Regions from separate parts of the Homo sapiens genome. Here region 2 is linked to region 1. The links are contacts of gene promoters, found by promoter capture Hi-C in human tissues and cell types (Jung and others, 2019). All regions are on one chromosome and are shown on one strand. Each heading gives the region's core, a stretch centred on a gene start or on the middle of the fragment in contact. The rest is flanking DNA. Distances are from core to core; before and after follow the strand shown. Region 1 holds the start of LIN7A (lin-7 cell polarity scaffold A). Region 2 overlaps LIN7A (lin-7 cell polarity scaffold A).

The links. Contacts are between HindIII fragments. The study calls those that stand out against the background at their distance.
Region 2: a fragment that was not itself captured here is called in contact with the fragment with the promoter of LIN7A in region 1 in 1 of the 25 tissues and cell types used here (mesenchymal stem cells).

What each region holds. Positions count from the first base shown.
Region 1 is chr12:80,935,725-80,940,887 of GRCh38, reverse strand. LIN7A (lin-7 cell polarity scaffold A) reads left to right here and starts at 2,954. Exons shown (of 6, transcript NM_004664.4): 1 at 2,954-3,247. The coding sequence starts at 3,166. It overlaps MIR618 (microRNA 618), which reads left to right and starts at 5,055; the gene lies at 5,055-5,152. RefSeq lists a silencer at 3,617-3,826. The HindIII fragment of the contact is 2,607 bases long and covers 2,118-4,724 here.
Region 2 is chr12:80,878,889-80,883,381 of GRCh38, reverse strand. All of the region lies in intron 2 of LIN7A (lin-7 cell polarity scaffold A), which reads left to right. Among named protein-coding and RNA genes, the nearest start is that of MIR617, 49 kb to the right of the region's middle. The HindIII fragment of the contact is 4,263 bases long and covers 127-4,389 here.

The DNA.
Region 1 (5,163 bases), core at 1,705-4,204:
AGCAGAAATCGCGCCACTGCACTGCAGCCTGTGCGACAGAGTGAGACTCCATCTCAAAAAAAAAAAAAAAAAAAAAAAAAGAACAAAGTGTGATGTTTCTTAGTGGAAAGCACAGGAGATTGTGAAGCCAGGTGCTACTATTCTTAAGCAAGTTGTGTAACCTCTGTGAGCTTCAGTTTACTTATCTTCAAAACGGCATAAAAATACCTACTTCTCTGGGCTGGAAAGAAAGGGAAAGAGAGACCAACTTAGCACCAAGTCTGGCACATATAAGTGCTCAATAAGTATTTATTGAATTAGTTAACTCCATGAAAATATAGTTACCATTAAACTAAATTTCTACATATCATTTAATGAAAGAGTGTAGTGATTTTGTAACCAAATAGCTAAGATAAAAGCATAATTACAAATATTTTAACAATTCTCAGGTAAATACACAGCAAAGCAACTGGCATGTGACTAGATCAAGTATATCCCTGCATGTCTCAAAACGAAATTCACAAATATTATTGGAGAGATAGTATTTATTCATAAAAACAAATTCTAATGGATAATGAATTTTTATTAATTTTCTACACCTGTGTAGACATAAGCTAAAGGGAATGAACTTTCCACTACTAAAAATAATAACAGATGAATTTATGGTGATTTATGCTTCCTTTTAATTTCTCTTTTAATCTTGATTTAAAAACAACAACAACCCTACAGAGTCAACACAGAGAAAGAATGACAGAGCAAATTTCAAATAGGAAGCTCAAGGCAGAAGTCCAGAAATATGCTATGAAATGTTTAGTCCTGAGGATGCATTAGGAAACAAAAAGACAAAGAAAACTCTACCTTCACTGACACCACAATCAGGGATTTGTGTTGGAATGGGTACAATTTATGACTTTTGGGCTGATGAATCAAGCTGCTTAAATACATATTCCCTAATAAAGGATGTTGTAAAATAACTACATTAGAAGTCAAGGGATTTGTATGTTCTTTTATCCTCAGTTACCGAGTGAGGTTTAATAACTTTGTGCAAAAGCTTGTAACACACTCTGGTATCATTGCGCTCATCTCAACTTCTTTCTGTTGCTTAATTCAGGGCATGTGAATAACGGTAAAAAACCAAAGTTGTTTTTGCAACCTCTGGCCACCGAGGGCACTTCCTTTTAATAGTGCTTAGAGTACTGCACAGAAGCTTATGGTTTGCTCACTGTCTCCCAAGCAAGACTGGGCAGAAAGGGGGCCATCTCATTAATCTTTGCATGGTTAGCACCTAGCACAGAGCTTACCACACGGTTCCAGGGGATGTATGCTTGTATAAATAAATTTGTATATTCTTTACTGTTTTCAAAGCACAGTCACATGTATGACTCCATTAGACCCTCATAAAACTCTGTGAGATTGCAAGGTAGAATTAGTTTCCTCATATGACAGATCTCTGTGACATTGAATGATATTATTTCCATTGTATGACAGAGGAGGAAACAGGATCAGTGAGAGATTGTGTGACTTCCGAAGAGTACATGACTAAGACTCAAATGTCAAGATCAGCATTCTTTCTTAAATACTAAATAAAAATAAACATATCGAACTACTATTTTAGGTTTGTTCTTAGGGTCTGTTAAGTCTATATATGGCCAATCATCTTTGGCTTTCCCACATTGGTGAAATGTTGTTTTTTAAAATTCAATTGTAGACTATAAAATGAAAAAGACCTTCAGAAATCCTATCTGTAATCAGAAGAAAATGGCATCAATTATATGCAAATATTTTGCTATAAAACAGTATCTGCCTTTTAGAGTTTATTGTTAGCCCAAACAATTCAGCTCTGTCACAGGAAACAAGATGGAGGCAGCTTTGTCATTTCCAATCCTGCACCCACAGTCACCCCTATTCAGCTTATAGAAGGTTTCTTTATGTTTCTTGATTTCGTAGTCAGGAAATGAATCCCTACTATGACAAGATAGTGAAAGTAGCCTTTTTATTGGGGCGAAGAGGTCACAGCCAGTATTTGAAGGCTCTCGTAATTTAATCCTGATCAACTGACTCTAAAGTCAGGTTTTTAATAACACCATCTCCCACTAGATTACAGGCTACAGGAAGTCGGAGACTAAATTGAACTCCTAAATCAAGGCGTGGCACAAGGCAATGTAACTCTTCTATCTCAATTCCTGGCATATATGTTAATCAATCGATAAGTGGCATCTCTGAACCACTGGTTAGAAATCAACATGAAAAGTGCTAGGTACATATTTTTCAAACGTAGTCATAGACAACCAAAATCAGTTTGGACATTAAGAGCAAAGTTTTTGTTGCTGGGTGGGTGAGGGGGAGTGGGGCATGTTTACAGGATGTGGTATGTAAAAAATTCGGAGAAAATCTGAACACTGTACTTGTTTCTAAGCTACATTTACTGAATTGGTAATGTATTAACAGTGGCTTGAAAAAGAAAAACTTAGCGATAGAAACTTACCTACACGTTTTTTATTTTGAAGCACTTTTAAGAGGTTTGCCTTTTTTTTTTTTTTTCTCCAGGCAATATACTCAGGTCCTAAATGAACATCTACTGATGGAACGCTGGCCTTTAGTCAGTTATCTTTATATGCCGTTATAGGTCAACATTCCGAAAAACTTCAACAGAAATTAACTGCAAATGTAATTACATCCCAAACATTTCTGATAATGGAAGCATTTTCTCTCTAAAGGGGATGGGATTATTGGATTGGCAATTTCTCTTAATCTGAGAAAACTCATCTCCCACTCCCTTCCCCATATCCCCTTTCCATCCTCTCTCTTCCCCTTATACACACACGCACCCGCATGCACACACGTATATTCTGACCATTTTATTAGAGTGGAAAGTTGAAAGGAAGCAACCCGCCAGCTACACCCACCCAGCGCTCCTGGGGGTGGAATAGCAAAGTTCTAGGGCAGAGCCTTCCCTCCCAGAGCCCGGCGATGCAGTCGCTCTCGGATACCTGCTCAGCTCCGCACCGCAACTGAAGATCTGCCGCCGCGGAACAGTTGCGTCTCCATCTGGCTACCAACCCACCCAAGCTTTCTTCTCCACCACCACCACCTTCCTTCCTTCCCCCTCCTCCCCCTCCTTTCCGTCTTCCCTCTCCACCCCCGCCCCCAATCTCCTCCTTTTTTTCTCACTACGAGCGGTTGCTGATGCTGAAGCCGAGCGTCACTTCGGCTCCCACGGCAGACATGGCGACATTGACAGTGGTCCAGCCGCTCACCCTGGACAGAGGTAAGGGAGCGGCTCGCTCGCCAGGCCACCGCGTCCCCTCTCCCCTCCTCCCTTCCCCGCCTGCCAATTCCCAACGGGACATGGGACGCGCTCAGGCAGGAGGAGAAGGGGAACGAGGACGAGCCAGGAAGGCGTTCGCGCCGAGAACAGAACACTTTCTTCCCCTTTCTCTCCCCGCTACGTTCCCGCTGCCCCTTCCCACTGTACTCGCCCCGCCGAGGGGACGCCTCCTTCTGGCTCTGGGGTCCCCGCTGCCACTCCCAGCCCCTCGCCGGGTCGTCTCCGGTCCTCTGGCTTTGTTGGAGCCGCTGCGCGGGGACGGCTATAGGCGCCAGGGGCTCGGGGTTGGAGAGGGGCAGAGAGCAAGCTCGCCCGGCCAGAGCCCAGAGGAGACCGGCGAGGGAGCCGCCTGTCAGCTTGCTTGGCGCAGGGGCCCGGGAGGAAGGAAGTTTGTCCAGGCGCCGGAGGGCGAGGGTCGGTCCAACTGCTGGAGTCCCGGCGGCCACTCGGGGGGCGGGCTGGGCGCACCCCTGGGCTGCCGGGCGCACAGTGGCGGGGCTGCAGCAGGCAGGGAGCTGCCCTCTGCCGAAAGGGCAAGGCAGAGCGCGGGGAGCCGAGCCCCAGCAGCCGAGATCGGCTCTCCGCGGCTTCGAGATCGAAAGCGGCGAGGGTCGCGTCTGCTCCCGCCGCCGGCAGCTCCCGGTCGATAGCAACTCTCGGCTTCTCCCGCGCCAGCCTCTCGTGTCCTCTCCCAGCTCGGTGCCACCGCGGCGCCCAGGCTGCGGAAGGCGCGGGGACAAAGCGCAGGTCGGGTTAAAATTCAACTTCTGACCTGCCACCCAGTGAGTCCTGCTCTCTGACTTGAACGGGGAAAGTGTTCGCTTCCTCCCCAGGACGCCCTCACAAGCTCAGGGATGGAGTCCTCCGCTGCGATCGGGGCCTCACTGGTGCACCCCTGTGGGGTTATACCTGTCCCTGAGTGTGTGGGTTTCCTTCCTGGCTCCAGCGTCCAGTGATGAAGGCGCTCGAGTCCTACGGCTCTGCAGAGGAGGACACCCTCTAGTCCCTCTCCGCAGCCGCCGGATTTAGGACCCTGGGCGGCCATTTGGAAATGGTGTACTCAGAAGAAAATGATTTAGTCCGATGTACCTCTAAAAATTTTCTTTCTAGAGGATTAAACTGAACGATGGGCAAGGCAAAAGAACATCCTGCTGAGAGTACAGTAACAAAGCCAGTGAACTCAGTTTGAGGTTTTTAATTTGGAGAGACTGTGGGTGACTTTAACGCAATCTGTTGGCGCCAGAACAGATGTTCTGTGGTGCCCATAGCAACCTTTCTTAGGGTAAGAGTTGAAAAATAAAATGTAATTGATTTTATATTAGAAAATGTTGATTTGTAAGCTGGCAAAATTAATAACAGTAGTTAAAGACCTCAGAAATCCATTGTATAATCCATGATTTTACCCACAATATCATCATCTGCACTAAGCAGGATAAATCCATTGCCGGTAAGAACCAAACAGATGGCAAGCTATCAGAAACTATGAGCTTCCCAAGTATTTATGTTTTAATGTAATGAGCTCTTATATTGTCCCATTACAAAATCACAGTCGTTAAACATCCCAAATCAAGTGACTATGTTAGGAGCAAAAACTCCAAGAAGATTGCATACCTGGGTCATTTTATATACTACCACTACTACTAATAATACAAATATTTCAATGTTGGGTTTTACCTTAGCCCTTAGATGCCTCAGTCGGTTGATGAGAGGAGGTGCTAATCGGACTAAGATTTATTTTTAAAGTTTGCTCTTGTTCACAGCCAAACTCTACTTGTCCTTCTGAGTGTAATTACGTACATGCAGTAGCTCAGGAGACAAGCAGGTTTACCCTGTGGATGAGTCTGAAAAAATTCATC
Region 2 (4,493 bases), core at 1,009-3,508, 57 kb after region 1:
TTGATGCTTTTCAAATTAATGCCTATTAATGTCTTAATCTACTGTGTGGATGAAAACATAGAAGGAAAACTTAATCAGCTTTATGAGAGAGTCAATGCTTGGTTGGGTGATACAACTTAGATTCAGAATTACCCTAAGAAAATACATACTTGGCTCATTAGTGACAATATGAGATAAAATAAGGATAATAGGAGAAAGAGGAATTGGAGGAAGAAAGAATGGGAGCGAGTGAAGGATGAGAAGGAGAGAGGTAGGGAAGAAAAACAGAAGAAGGAAAAAGAAGAGAAAAACAGAAAGAGAGAGAAGAAAGAAGGAAAGAAGGAAGGAGGGAGGGAGGGAAGTAAAGCTGATACTGAATCATAGCTTATTGTAATATAATGGAAAAGTGCAGAAAGAATATTGGCAATGGATGGTGACAAATCTGGATTCACATCCTTGCTTGACCACATCATTTTGTAATCTAGTGCCAAGTTACTTAATTTCTGTGATCTTGGTTTTGCTTATTCTCTTTTTTAAGATAAAATAAGACAATAATAACTACATAGGATTGTCAGAAAGATTAAATAAAATGAGATAGCAGATTACATACCTTGACTAATACAGTGCCTAGCTTAAAGAGTTGACGATTAAGAAATTGTAGCTATTGTAAAAATTTTGATGGATTAAGTGATAAAAAGCTAAAATTAGAAATAATAGTTAAGAATCACCATTGTCATTGACTATTATTCTGAATGGCCTAGCTACTAAAATAAGTCAAGAAAAACATAAAATAGGTGTAAGTATTAGAATGAAAGAAAAGGCCGGGCGCGGTGGCTCACGCCTGTAATCCCAGCACTTTGGGAGGCCGAGGCGGGCGGATCACGAGGTCAGGAGATCGAGACCATCCCGGCTAAAACGGTGAAACCCCGTCTCTACTAAAAATACAAAAAATTAGCCGGGCGTAGTGGCGGGCGCCTGTAGTCCCAGCTACTTGGGAGGCTGAGGCAGGAGAATGGCGTGAACCCGGGAGGCGGAGCTTGCAGTGAGCCGAGATCCCGCCACTGCACTCCAGCCTGGGCGACAGAGCGAGACTCCGTCTCAAAAAAAAAAAAAAAGAATGAAAGAAAAATGATAGTACTGTTATTACTCACAGATGATATGATCGTATATGTAAAAATCCAAAAGAATATTTAGAGAAACCATTAGCATTGCATTTCTTTATATAATTTCACTCCTATATATTCAATAAAATATGTACCTATGTATGTAGTTCTTGATCATTCAAAAAATGCAATATTTTTAAATGGATGGCTCCAAATTTTCAGATAGATGTTAACACATTGTAGTGGTTGTAGAAAAAGGCAACCAGCATAGAAAGAGATCTGGATACCTTGTTAGATGACAAGAAGTTAAGAACTTGGTGATATTCAGCCACATAAAGAGAAAAGTAATGTGTAACATAAGATTTACCACCCAATAGTTGATGGGATAAATGGCAAGAGAATTAACCATGCCAGAACACTGGATGAAAAATGGAAGAATAACCAAGGATAACCAGATAACCAAGGATAACTAGAAATACCCAACTATTACAAATGGGCTCATTTGTAATACAGGAAACTTCCTATATAACAACAGCAGAGATTAGATGCTGTATTTCAGATCACGTTATAAAAGGGATATTTTAGTTAAAGATCATATACAGACTTTATGTTGTAGGTTAAGTAAGAGCAAACATATATATATGTGTGTGTACATATATATATATATATAACTTAGCTTTATTTTGTTTTCTTTGCTTTTTGTGCAAAAAATTGTTCATGGTAAAATATTTTTTTAATGTATTTAATGTTTTAATATTTTTATTGTTTTAAAATATTTTAATGTTTTCCTTTAAACATGGACAGAGTAGCATGTATTTTTTCACACAAAGTTACTATCCTTGCACAATGACATCTGGAATGGCATTGCATTCATCAGAATTAATGAAAATGCATCTGACATTATGTTTGTGCATATCTCTTTCTGTTCACATTAAACTTAGCTTAAGTTGGCAAATGTCAGAGAAAAGAAAGCTGATGGCTCCTACATTTCCTTTGATTTTATTTGCATTGCTAAATGTGATGGGACACAAAAGCCAGACTGTTTCTTGTGTGATAAGTTTCCTGCCAATGATAGGATGAAGTCAAGAAAGCTTATTTCTGAGCATCCTGAAAATAAATCACACAATATAGATTTTTTTCCCCTGGAGAAGAAGTTCAATTTTAAAAGGATGGAAATTTACCAAAACTTATATTTGCACTAACATGAAACTTTTGACATGTTTCCAATCAAAAGAAACCATAAATAACTGGAGAAAGCTTTATCATTTCAAGTACTCTAGAAATGCTTGAGCTGGTTGGTTGATTAGAATAAAAAAAATTAATAGCACCTCTGTTCACTTGATAGAACCTACTCTTGAACTCTGGTATTTTGCCAATATTTCAAAGCCAGTTATAGTGAAAATAACAGCTGTGGCATTCCCATTTGGCATGCAACTGAGTGAAAACTATGATTGTTTCAGTAAAACTCTGATTTTTATCTCTCACCTGAATGTCGATGTGTGTGTGTGTGTCTGTGTGTGTGTATGTGTGTGTGTGTGTGTGTGTGTGCGTTGCCTCCTCCCAACAGAGTTTATCAAGCAAAACTCCTAATGGAACAAAAATCTTGATACTGCAAGTACATATGGAGTACATATGGAGTTTCTTTATGCAAGATCCAGCGTAATTAATCTGGTGAAGACAGAGGTTCCACTTTTCATAGAGACATATTGCCCTCACCATCAGCATGCATTCGTGTGAAAGACACTGATAATTATTCTAAAAAGATGCTTTGCCTGCTCTGTTAAAATAATTTCACAGACATAGCCAGAAATCTAGAGTTTCAAAAGTTTTTATTTGGGAATGAAGCAAAATGTATTATTTTTACTATCAGAAGTTTTTTGGCTTTCCAATGAATAAGTGTTAATGCACTTGGCTGAACTTGGGTCAGAAATTTCATTTTATCTATTTTTTAAGTAAAAGAGAGCTGAATCTTAAAACAATTTGACAAGAGAGGTTTATTCATGGATGGACTTCTTTGTAGATGTTAGGTCAAAAAAAAATGAGGCTAGTCTTTCAATTTCAGATTTTCTGGTCTAGTAGGGTGGCTCTGGAAACAACTGTCATTTTGGAGGAAGAAATTACAGGTAAAATCTTGTGACCTTTCCATTGACATGAAAGTGCTGAAAGAAAGACTTTAGTGAGGGCAAGGGAGTTGAAAATGAGAAAGACATGTCAGTTTATCCATGGAGAAGATCTACAAACATCTGTAAAGACTACAAAACTCTTTTAAAGGTTATTTCTGCTTAGACTACATAAAATTGAAAGCATTCAAACATCTTCCCTTGCTGACTAAGGCTGCATTGTTGACACTAAGCTTTCCAAAAATAATTTCATTTGACTTGAGGACAAAGGGTTTCATAGAACCTGAATTCACCCTGAAGTAGCTTGGAGAAAGCTCAGGTGTCTTGATAAACGTCTGCTCTGCTCCGACTGATAGGGAATTTAATTCTGTTTGATACTGAAAGCTGTGTGAGCTGCAACTTTGAGCACATAGTGCTATTAAAACAGATGAAAAATTGTTTGGATACTAAAAATAACACCGATATTTTCCTATAAAGGAAGGCTCAGTCTAAATTTTAACTTCTTCCTTTTTTTTTTTTTTTTTTTTTTTTTTTGGGCTGCTCCATAGACACAGCAGGGCTATCCCATAGGCAAAGTGTTCCAGAGTAGCCTAAATTTTAACTTCTTACTAAGCCAAATAAAACAGCCTTCTCATTGAAAACTATTTTAAGCAGAATATATGTTTTCTTTTTTTATATGATTTGGTTAGTAATTTGCATTTATGTTTTATTTAGAAAGAGGTCATCAATTTTCACAAGAAAAATGAGTCACATAATTATTTGTAAAATGTGAAATAACTCAATGACAAATGCAAACAAATAAATAAATGATATGAACATTTACACACATGAGTGGATTTTTCTTGGGATAACTTCACAAACTTCATTAGATTTTCTAGTGTCCATGATATCTCCTCTCTATCCCACCCCCTCCTACCCCCAAATAAAGACTAATTAATAAGGTCTATAATATCAGTTGAGAAACACTGCTCCACTAGGTAGTCAGTCTCCTGTGATCCTTCCGGTTCTGTGAATCTATAGTTACATAGCAAGCAATCTATGTTTTTCTTCACATAGATTGCATCTACATGAAAGGCTGAGCATGTATGGATACTTGGAATATGTAACTGTGTGAGACTGTGTGAATGGGGTAAGAAAGACAAGTACTATGAAGATTTTTAAATTGATAAAAATAATACTACAGAATAAATGTACTTGTGAGAGGTGAAGCCAGCTGGACTTTTGGATCGTGTGGGGACTTGGAGAACTTTTCTGTCTTACAAGAGGATTGTAAAATGCACCAATCAGTGCT